2 separate regions of the Homo sapiens genome follow, and region 1 is linked to region 2. Evidence: promoter capture Hi-C in human tissues and cell types (Jung and others, 2019). All regions are on one chromosome and are shown on one strand. Each heading gives the region's core, a stretch centred on a gene start or on the middle of the fragment in contact. The rest is flanking DNA. Distances are from core to core; before and after follow the strand shown.

Evidence for each region. The method cuts DNA at HindIII sites, captures the fragments that hold promoters and counts their contacts. A contact is called where the count stands out against the background at its distance.
Region 1: a contact is called between a fragment that was not itself captured here and the fragment with the promoter of PDYN in region 2, in 1 of the 25 tissues and cell types used here (dorsolateral prefrontal cortex).

The regions. Positions count from the first base shown.
Region 1 is chr20:2,424,263-2,429,062 of GRCh38, forward strand. The region is part of intron 10 of TGM6 (transglutaminase 6); the gene reads left to right. Among named protein-coding and RNA genes, the nearest start is that of SNORD119, 36 kb to the right of the region's middle. The HindIII fragment of the contact is 5,615 bases long and covers 1-4,113 here.
Region 2 is chr20:1,991,915-1,996,950 of GRCh38, forward strand. It overlaps PDYN (prodynorphin), which reads right to left and starts at 2,144. Exons shown (of 4, transcript NM_024411.5): 1 at 1,997-2,144; 2 at 670-729. The region is part of intron 3 of PDYN-AS1 (PDYN antisense RNA 1); the gene reads left to right. RefSeq lists an enhancer at 1,684-2,514. The HindIII fragment of the contact is 29,966 bases long and covers 1-5,036 here.

The sequences.
Region 1 (4,800 bases), core at 56-2,555, 430 kb after region 2:
TAAAGCTATTTTTTCTACATTGAAAATGTGTTGTTTTATGTAGCCATCTTCACCAATGATCTTAGCTAGAGTCTCTGCATAACTTGCTGTTGCTTCTACATCAGCACTTGTTGCTTCAGCTTGCACTTTTATGTTATAGAGATGGCGTCTTTCCTTAAACCTTATGAACCAACCTGTGCTAGCTTCAAACTTGTCTTCTGTAGCTTCCTAACATCTCTCAATCCTTATAGAATTGAAGAGAATCAGGGCCTTGCTCTGGATTAGGCTTTGGCTTAATGGAATGTTATGGCTGGTGTGATCTTATATGGAGATCACTAAAACTTTCTCCATATTAGCAATAAGGCTATTTTGCTTTCTTATCATTCCTATGTCACTTTTAGTTTCCTTCAAGAGTAGCACTTTTAATTTCCTTCAAGAACTTTCCCTTTGCATTCAAAACCTTGCTGTTTGGCACAAGAGGCCTAGCTTTTGGCCCATCTTGGCTTTCTATGTGCCTTCCTCACTAAGCTTAATCATTTCTAGCTTTTGACTTAAAGTGAGAGACATGTAACTCTCATTAACTTGAACACCTAGAGGCCATTGTAGGTTTATTAATTGGCCTAATTTCAATATTATTGTGTATCCGGGAATAGGAAGGCCCAAGGACAGGGAGAGAGATAGGGAAATGGCCAGTCGGTGGAGCAGTCAGAACTCACATGACATTTTTTAATTAAGTTCAACATCTTACAGGGCATGGTTTGTGGTGCTAACAAACAGTTACAATAGTAGCCTCAAAGATCACTGATCAAGGGCTGGGCACAGGGGCTCATATATGTAATCCCAATCCCATTCACTTTTGGAGGCCAAAGTGAGAGAACTGCTTGAACCTAGGAGTTTGAGACCAGCTTGGGCAACACAGCAATACCCCATCTCTACAAAAAATTAAAATAAAAAATACCTGCTGGGTGTGGTGGCATGCTCCCATAGTCCTAGCTACCTGGAGGCTGAGGCAGGAGGATTGCTTGAGCCCAAGAGCTGGAAGTTTGCAGTGAGCTATGATCACACCACTGCACTTACAGCCTGGGTGACAGAGCAAGACCTTGTCTTAAAGAAAAAAAAAAAAAGATCACTGATCATAGAAGCAAACACATGCTCTTGGAAAAATGGCTCTTATAGAGTTGCCTGACTCAGGGTTGCCACAAAACTTCAATTTGTAAAAAATGCAATATCTGCAAAGTACAATAAAATGAAGCACAGTAAAATAAGGTATGCCTGTCTTTGTCCATTCTTTCACTAATACCACACTGTCTTGATGACTGTACCTTTATAGTAAATCTTAAAGGTACCTGAAGTCAGGTAGTGCCAGTCCTCTAACTTTGTTCCTCTCCTTCAATAATGTACAATTGTACAATTGTACTGACTACTCTGGGTCTTTTGCCTCTTGACATAAACTTTTTTATGTCATGGTTCTTTAAAAAAATCTTAATTGATATATATTAGTAATACATATTTTGTGGGTACACATATTTTGATACATGTATAGAATGTGTAACAATCGAATCAGGGTAATTGGGATATCCATCACCTTATACATTTATCTGTATCTTTTCTTCGTGTTCGAAACTATACAATTTATTCTAGCTATTTAGAAAGGTACCATAAATCATTATTAACTATAATTTCCCTACTGTGTTATGAAATATTAGAACTTATTCTTTCTAACTATCTTGTACCCATTATCCAACTTCTCTTCATTCCTGCCTCCCACCCACACATAAAGTTTGGAATCAGTTTGTCAATATCCACAAAATAACTTCTTCAGATTGCATTGAATCTATAGATCAAGCTAGGAAAAATTGACATTTTGACAATATTGAGCCTTTCTATCCATGAACATGGAATATCTCTCCATTTATTTAGTTTTTTGATTTCTTTCATCAGAGTTTTACAGTTCTTCTTGTGTAGATCTTGTACATATTTTGTTAAATTAATGCCTAAGTGTTCCATTTTTGGTGGTGCTAACATAAGTGGTATTATGTTTTTAATTTTAATTTCCAATTGTTCATTGCTGGTATATAGGAAAATGATTGACTTCTGTATATTAGTAATCTTATACCCTGTAACCTTGCTATTACCACTCATAAGTTCCAGGATTTTTTGTTTGTTGTTGTTGACAATTCTTTTGGATTTTCTACATAAACAATTATATCATTTGTGAACAAAGACTGTTTTATTTCTTCCTTCCCAATCTGTATACATTTTATTTCCTTGTTTTATCTTATTGCATTAGCAAAGACTTCCAATATGATGTTGAAAAGGAATAGTAAGAGGGGACATCCTTGCCTTGTTCCTAATCATCATGGGAAAGCTTCCAGTTTGTCACCAATAAGGACAATGTTTGCTGTAGGTTTTTTGTAGATGTTCTTTATCAAGTTGAGTAAATTCCTCCTCTATTCCTAGTTTGCTGAGAGCTTTATCAGGAATGGGTGTTGGATTTTATCAAATTCTTTTTCTGCATCTATTGATATGATCATGTTATTTTTTCCTGTTGATTTGATGGACTATATTAATTGACCTTTAATATTGACCCAGCCTTACATGCCTAGAATAAATCCCACTTGATCATAGCATGTAATTTTTTATACATTGTTAATTCAATTTACCAATATTTTGTGGGAATTTTTGCATCTATGTTCATATTGGTCTGTAGTTTTGTTTTTCTTGCAATGTCTTTGTCTGGTTTTTGGCATTAAGGTAATGCTGGCCTCATAGAATGAATCAGGAAGTATTTCTCTGCTTCCATTTTCTGGAAGAGATTGTAGAGAATTGCTATAATTTTTTTTTCTTAAATTCTTGGTATAATTCACCAGTGAACCCATCTGGGATTAATGTGTTCTGGTTTGGAAGGTTATTAAGTACTGATTCCATTTTTTAGTAGATATAGGCCTATTCATGTTGTCTGTTTCTTCTTATGTGAATTTTAGCAGATTTTTTTCTTTCAAGAACTGGTCCCTTTTATCTGGATTATCAAACCTGTGGGCATAAAGTTGTTCATAATATTCCTTTACTCTCTGTTTTTTTCCTAACTCCCCAAACTTGTTACCTTTACTATCCTTTTAATGTCCATGGAATCTGTAGAGATGTCCTCTCTTGCATTTATCATATTAGTAACTTGTGCCTTCTCTCTTTTTTTTCTGAGTTAGCCTTGCTAGAGGCTTATTGACTTTACTGATCTTTTCAAAGAACCAGCTTTTGGTTTTGGTGATTTTCTCTATTGATCTCTGATTTTCAATTTTACTGATTTCTGCTCTAATTTTTATTATTTCTTTTCTTCTGCTTAAGATGAGTTTAACGTGTTCTCCTTTTTATAGTTTCCTAAAGCAGAAGTTTAGATTATTGGATTTAGATCCTTCTTCTTTTCTATCATATGTATTGAATATTATAGACTTCTCTCTAAGCACTGCTTTTGCTGCAACCTACAAGTTTGTGTGTTGGGGGAGGGGTGTTTGTTTGTTTGTTTTGTTTTGCTTTTCAGACAGAGTCTCGTTCTGTCACCCAGGCTGGAGTGCAGTGGCACAATCATGGCTCACTGTAGCCTCAACTTCCCAGGCTCAGGTGATTCTCCCTCCTCAGCCTCCCAAGTAGCTGAGACTACAGGCACGTGCCCACAAATTTTGATAAGTTGTAGTTTCATTTTCATTTACTTCGAAATACTTTTAAATTTCTCTTAAGACTTCTTCTTTGTCCCATGTGTTCTTCTAGAAGTGTGTTGTTTAATCCCTAGGTATTTTAGATTTTTCAGCTGTCTTTCTGTCATTGATTTCCAGTTTGATTTCATTGTGTTCTGGGGGCATATATTGCATAATTTCTATTATTTTAAACTTGTTAATGTGTCATTTATGCCACAGAATGTGATCCTTTTTGGTGAGTGCTCCGTGTAAGATTGAGAAGAATGCGTATCCTGCTGTTGTTGGATGAAATATTCTGCAGATGTCAGTTAGCCCAGCTGAGTGACGGTGCTATTGAGAACCATTGTTCTAGGGAAAGGGGTCTCAGCTTTTATTAGATTGTTAGTGGTGTCTATGAGTCAGAGAACTTCAAAAAGCCCTGATGCAAACATTTTAAAGGGCTACTTTTCTCCTCCTTTCTCCCAGGATCTGAGCTGATGCCCAAAGCTCTGCTCATGTGTATCATATGGTGGCATATGATGGTTCTTCATGCTGGAGACTGAGAATTTACATCTCTAACAAGTTCCCAGGTGACGCTGATGCTGCTGGTCCCAGGACCACACTTGGAGAACCGTGGTCTATCACCATGCAAGGAGTAAATGATATAATGTATATAAAGTATTTGGCATCATTCTTACTACCTAATGAGCATTCAATTTATGTTTATTATCAGTGTTTTTGATATTATTATCAATAATAATATATTATCAATAACATAATAAATCAATCAATAAAATAAAAATAATAATACCCGCTCATGGAATTGTTGTAAGGATTAAATAAGTCAATCTGTGAAAGCGCTTCCAAGTGCAGTACACTTTAATCCCTTAGTAAAACTTAGCTTTTATAATTATAATTATTATTGTTATTTTGAGATAGAGTCTCTCTCTGTCGCTCAGGCTGGAGTGCAGTGGCGCAATCTCAGCTCACTGCAACCTCCGCCTGCTAGGTTCAAGTAATTCTCCTGCCTCAGCCTCCCAAGTAGCTGGGATTATAGGCACAACACCACGCCCTGCTAATTTTGTAATTTTTTTTAGTAGAGACAGGGTTTCAACATGTTGGTCAGGCTGGTCTTGAACTCCTGACCTCAGGT
Region 2 (5,036 bases), core at 894-3,393:
TCAAATGAAAATATTAGACATTAGATCATATCTCCTGGACATAGCACACAGCATGATGGAGTGGGATGATCAGCGATATGATAATCGATGGAGAGAAAGGTCCAACCTCACCACTTCGGAACAGTGAAAATCTGAGCAGTCATGCCAGTATTTATTGAGCACCTACTGAATGCCAGGCATTTTGCTATATCCCATTGGAGACTTGCAATAACCTTAGGAGGTGAATATTATTATTATTCTCATCATACAGGTAAAGAAAGTATGACTCAGAGAGGGACTTCTACTGTTCCAAAGTCACACAGTAAGTGAGTGGTAGGATCTGGGATTTCAGCCCAGCACTGTTTCAGGTGTTGTGAGACACACGTGTAGATGACAGATGGAAAATTCCTGCCTCCCAGGAGTTACTTCAAGAAACCTTAACTCCTTCCACGTGTTTTAAGATCGCAAATCTCTCAAATAGCCCCAGAGCTGATCCCTTTGCCTGCTCCCTTAAAATGTGCTGCCTTCCGCCACATAGCCTTGGGAACCAGTGTGACATCCCCCTCCCAGCTGCCAACAGAGGCATAGGGTTTGCCTGCCACCTATCACACCTCTAGCTCAGCTGGGGCAAAGCAGTGGGCTTGAGATCCCGTCAGTGAACGCAAACCACCCCCAGGCAGCATAACTCACCGGCTTGGGCTGCTGCAACAGCTCCCCCCACGCAGATCTCAAAGCCTGAAGATAAATGACCTGCAAAAATAGAACAAAGGCAAGGTGTGGTGGGACTGGGGGGAGAAGAGGAGGGGAAAAGAGAAGGAAGGTGCCACAGAGGGGTGGGAGTGAGGCCTGGGGTGAGAAAGAACAGAAGAGGATCGACATTCTGCAATGCTTTGCAATGGATCTCGACTGGGATGCCTGTCAAATTAGAAAGGCAAGCCTTGTATATTTCAGCAACCCTTGGAAGAAAGATGATAATGAAGACTTTCAGTCTGTGGGAGGGGAATTGAAATCAGATCCAATAATCGAAAGAGCTTGTTTCCCCTGGGAAGACTGGAGACTTAATTAAGTAATGTTTGTAGAGCTTGGAGGGATTCTTGATACCCAGGAAAAAGTAAGCAGTTGCAGAATTTACTCTTCAACCTTGGAGTAGTCAGCAGGCTTTTTTTTTTTTTTTTTTTTTCCTGAAACTCATCAGCTTTTTGCTAGAATCAAACTTTGAGACTTGGTACTTTTCTGAATATGGGTCTCTGGACCAGTGAGCAAATGGCTTTCCCTTTGAGCCTCCTCCTGGCCTTAGACTCCTCTGGCTGTAGTTAATAGGAGAGCAACAAGTCCTTTCCAAGTAAAATGGACAAGAAAATGCCTGCTAAGCCTGGGCCTCCTGGCTTGTTGTCACTCCCTTTTCCCATTCCCTTCCAACAAAACATCCCCAAACTTCAACCTGTATCAAATTCCATCAAAAGAAGCCGCTCAAACCAGCACCCTGTCAGCAATTAAACACAATCCGAAAAGAATGAAAAGGCCGAACCTGGCCGTACATTGATGTACATGTTATGTGATAAATGCCAGAGCCTTGGATCTCATTAATGTCCTCAAGCCATTGTTCTCTAAGTCCAGTGAGACTCATTGACCTTTAAAATCACCCTGATTAGTGAAACCTCTCACTTCTCCCATCCAGGGTGTCCCATTTTCCCCAGACCCTGGGAATGGCATGGGAACTGCTGTGTGGGAGACTGCAAGAAGGAGACCCTGGAGCTAAAGCCAAAGGGTGGTCCTCTTGGGAGAGAGCTTACCACCTGTTTAAGCCAGGACTGTGCAGAAAGGGAGAGTCCAAAGAGCAGTCTCTCACTGGTCTGGCTTTTGTGAACTAGCCTCCTAACTGTAACCACCTTTGCTAGATAATCAGACCCAAACCTAAAATCCCCAGCCCGAGCTCCCACCATCTCTAGGTCCAGAGGACCAGGAATAAGCAAATAAAACCAAGCGATAGAATTCCAGTGCCCCCTCTGGATGTTACCTGCACTCTGCTTTGTCCCTGGGCAGCTTCTGGCCGAGCAGGTCGGAGGTGGCAGTGGCTGGTCCAAGGCTCAGGGGCCTCCTTGACTCCGGCTTGGGAGGAGGTGCCAAAGAGGCAGCTGTGAACACCACCAAAGCCCCTTCAAATGGCAGTTCTGGTGCCTCTTCCCCCCTTTTATGGACGAGAGCCTCCCCTGTCGCTCAGCCCTTGCTGAGCACAGGCTGCTGGGAGCCAATGGGGAAGTGGCTGAGAGCAGTCAGAGCACAGACCCCCAGGCCCTTCAACTCGAACTCCCTGGGCCTGACACAATAGGCTTCTCTTCGTGACAGGGATGTGGAGGAGGAAGGCAGCCGTGTTGGGGAGGGGGCGGATTCTGGGTGTAGTGCTGTTTGTCACTTGAAATCCGGCCACTTCAGTTTTTGATGCGTTTCCAGGAGAGTGTCACAGGAAAAAGAAGACAGGGAAGGACAGAGACAGAAGAGTTAGAGAAAGAGAGAGAGAGAGAGAGACTCAGAGAGAATCGGAAATCGAGAAAGAGGCAATGTCGGACCTAGGGAGTGATACAAAGGAGGGGAGAAAGAGAAAGAAAAACAGAGACAGAGAGTGGCAGAGATAGGGAGATGGGTAGAAACACAAGGAGAGAGGGACAGAGCAAGAAAAAAGGAAACCAGCCAGGTAGACTGTCAGACTCAAAACACACTGATCCACAGACAGACAGACGTGGAGACAGACAGAGGCTGAGACAGTCTTCTGATCACGGAAGAGAGTCGGAAGATGACAGCCGAGTCAGCAGGCACGTGCATGGCCCGCTGTTGCGTGCCGTGGCAACTCTGTGTTGGCTGGTGCACGCGTGTGCTGGAATCTTTTTGTGTGTACATTTGCCTGCAAACGGCATTCGGCTCTGGTACATGCCTGAGCTGGTGCCAGGCACACTAGCCCTGGCAGAAGCACAGCTCTTCCCCGACAGCCAGGAGCTGCAGTTTAGTTTTCTCTGGCGGCAACACAAAATGAATAGCAGGAAAAACCCCTCAAAATATGGGCTGCAATATGCCTCAGCACACACTCTGGGTGAGGGATGGACCCACCTCAATATACCCTTGGCCTGGACCAGCAGCAGCTTGAAGGTGGCACTCTTCATTGCTACAGAGATCTTCCAGAACATAAGGGTCTTTGAGTTTGGAAGAGAACATGCTTCTCTTCTCAGTCAATAGCAGACAGTTTGTGGTGGGAGGCACAACTATTTCAGAAGTCTGGCAGGGCCGCCCATTTTGTGGGCACCTGGCTGCACCAGGCGGTTAGGTAGAGTTGTCAGATTTAATCCTCATGACCTAGCCAGTTGGTTAATATTATCCCCATCTTGCAGATGAGAAAACAGAGGTTTGAGAGCTGAGAAACTTTCCTAGAGACACACAGCAAGTAAGTCATCCAGCTAGAACCTAAAGTCAGGTCCATCTATCCTCCAAGTTCCTAGAGACACACAGCAAGTAAGTCATCCAGCTAGAACCTAAAGTCAGGTCCATCTACCCTCCAAGTTCCTAGAGACACACAGCAAGTAAGTCATCCAGCTAGAACCTAAAGTCAGGTCCATCTACCCTCCAAGTTTCTGCCCCCTCCCTTGCCTCTCCCCAGGCTTGAATCTGCCCACACTGAGGGGTGGGGTCAGTTTTCTTCTCTGGGACTCAGCCTCTCCATACACAGGCTGTGCTTAATGACATTTAAGATGTGAGTTTGACTCTCAGGTCTGCCACTCACCATCGGAGAGACCTTGGATAAGCTGCCAACTTCAACCTCTGATTGCTCATCTGTACAGTGGGGACAACAGTATCATGGGGCTCTTGGGCTCTTGTGAGGGTGAAAGGAGGATGTGTCAATAGCACTTAAAGCAGCCAGTACGGAGCGGATGTTCTGCTCCCATCATTCCTGATAAACCACATCCCTCCAGCTTTGATGCAGCAGGTTCTCCTGGGCATCCTCCTCTCCCTGCACCTGGCTCGTTAAACTCTCACATAAGGAGGAGGGTAGAAGGGGCTGTTTGCTGAACACCTATTATGCCTCAGACATTTCCACATTCCATCACATCCTCACAACAAGAAAACCTGTGGTGTGGATCTCACAATGCGTCCTCAGATGGAGAAGGCAGCAGAAGTTCAGAGAGGCCCCAGCCACCCAGGGAGGGAGGAAGAACCGAGACCCATCCCTCAGATCCTGAAGCTGCAGCCCCACCACACTCCCCTCTGGACCCACAGCCTCACTTTCCTTCTCCTCCCTGTCTCCTCTTCCCGAGGCAGCACAAGGGGTCTGACTGGCGGGTGCAAGCGACTCCTGGTGCCCTATGTGGAAGCCCCTGCCCAGTTGGTGATAGCCAGTGCGCAGGGTCACCAAGCACTTGGCCACATCTCAGGCTGGCTTCTTGCATGGTGGCCAGAGGACATGAGTGGAGTCTATTCATTGCCACCCTGGGAATCTGGGAGCCCAGGAGTGAGCGTCTACTTCATCCCCAAGGCCAAAGCCTCACTCCAACTGCTCTCTTTCCTCATTTTTCATTTCCTCCTTCTCCTCCTAACCTCTGCCTCTATAAGCTCTTGGTAATAACCTTCGAATACACAGAGACTCTTAGAGAGGGAGTACAATGGCTCCCGTGGCTGGAAGTCAGCAAGCACTGGAAGAGCAGAGGACAGGGGCCTCTCCTGACTGTTATTCACCAGAGGGAAGTTGGGGCAGTGAGAGTAGAGACACTCATGGATAATCCTCATTAAGCCATTGATGTCTGATATCCTTCACCCCCTGAGTCTACTGTTGCCTCAAGAGCAAATAGTTCCTGCATTTGCCTTTCCTCTCCTTCCGCAGCCTCCTTTACACACACACACACACACACACACACACACACACACATAGAAGGCCAGGAGCAGCCTTCCCCCTTAGTCCTGGAGAACCTTGCCATAAAGCTCACCCTCTCCTGGGCTCAGTGATGCACCAATCATGGTGCTGGCCCTGTGGGCAGCAGTCCCGGGGGTGGGTACCATGGCTCAGCCAGGCTCAC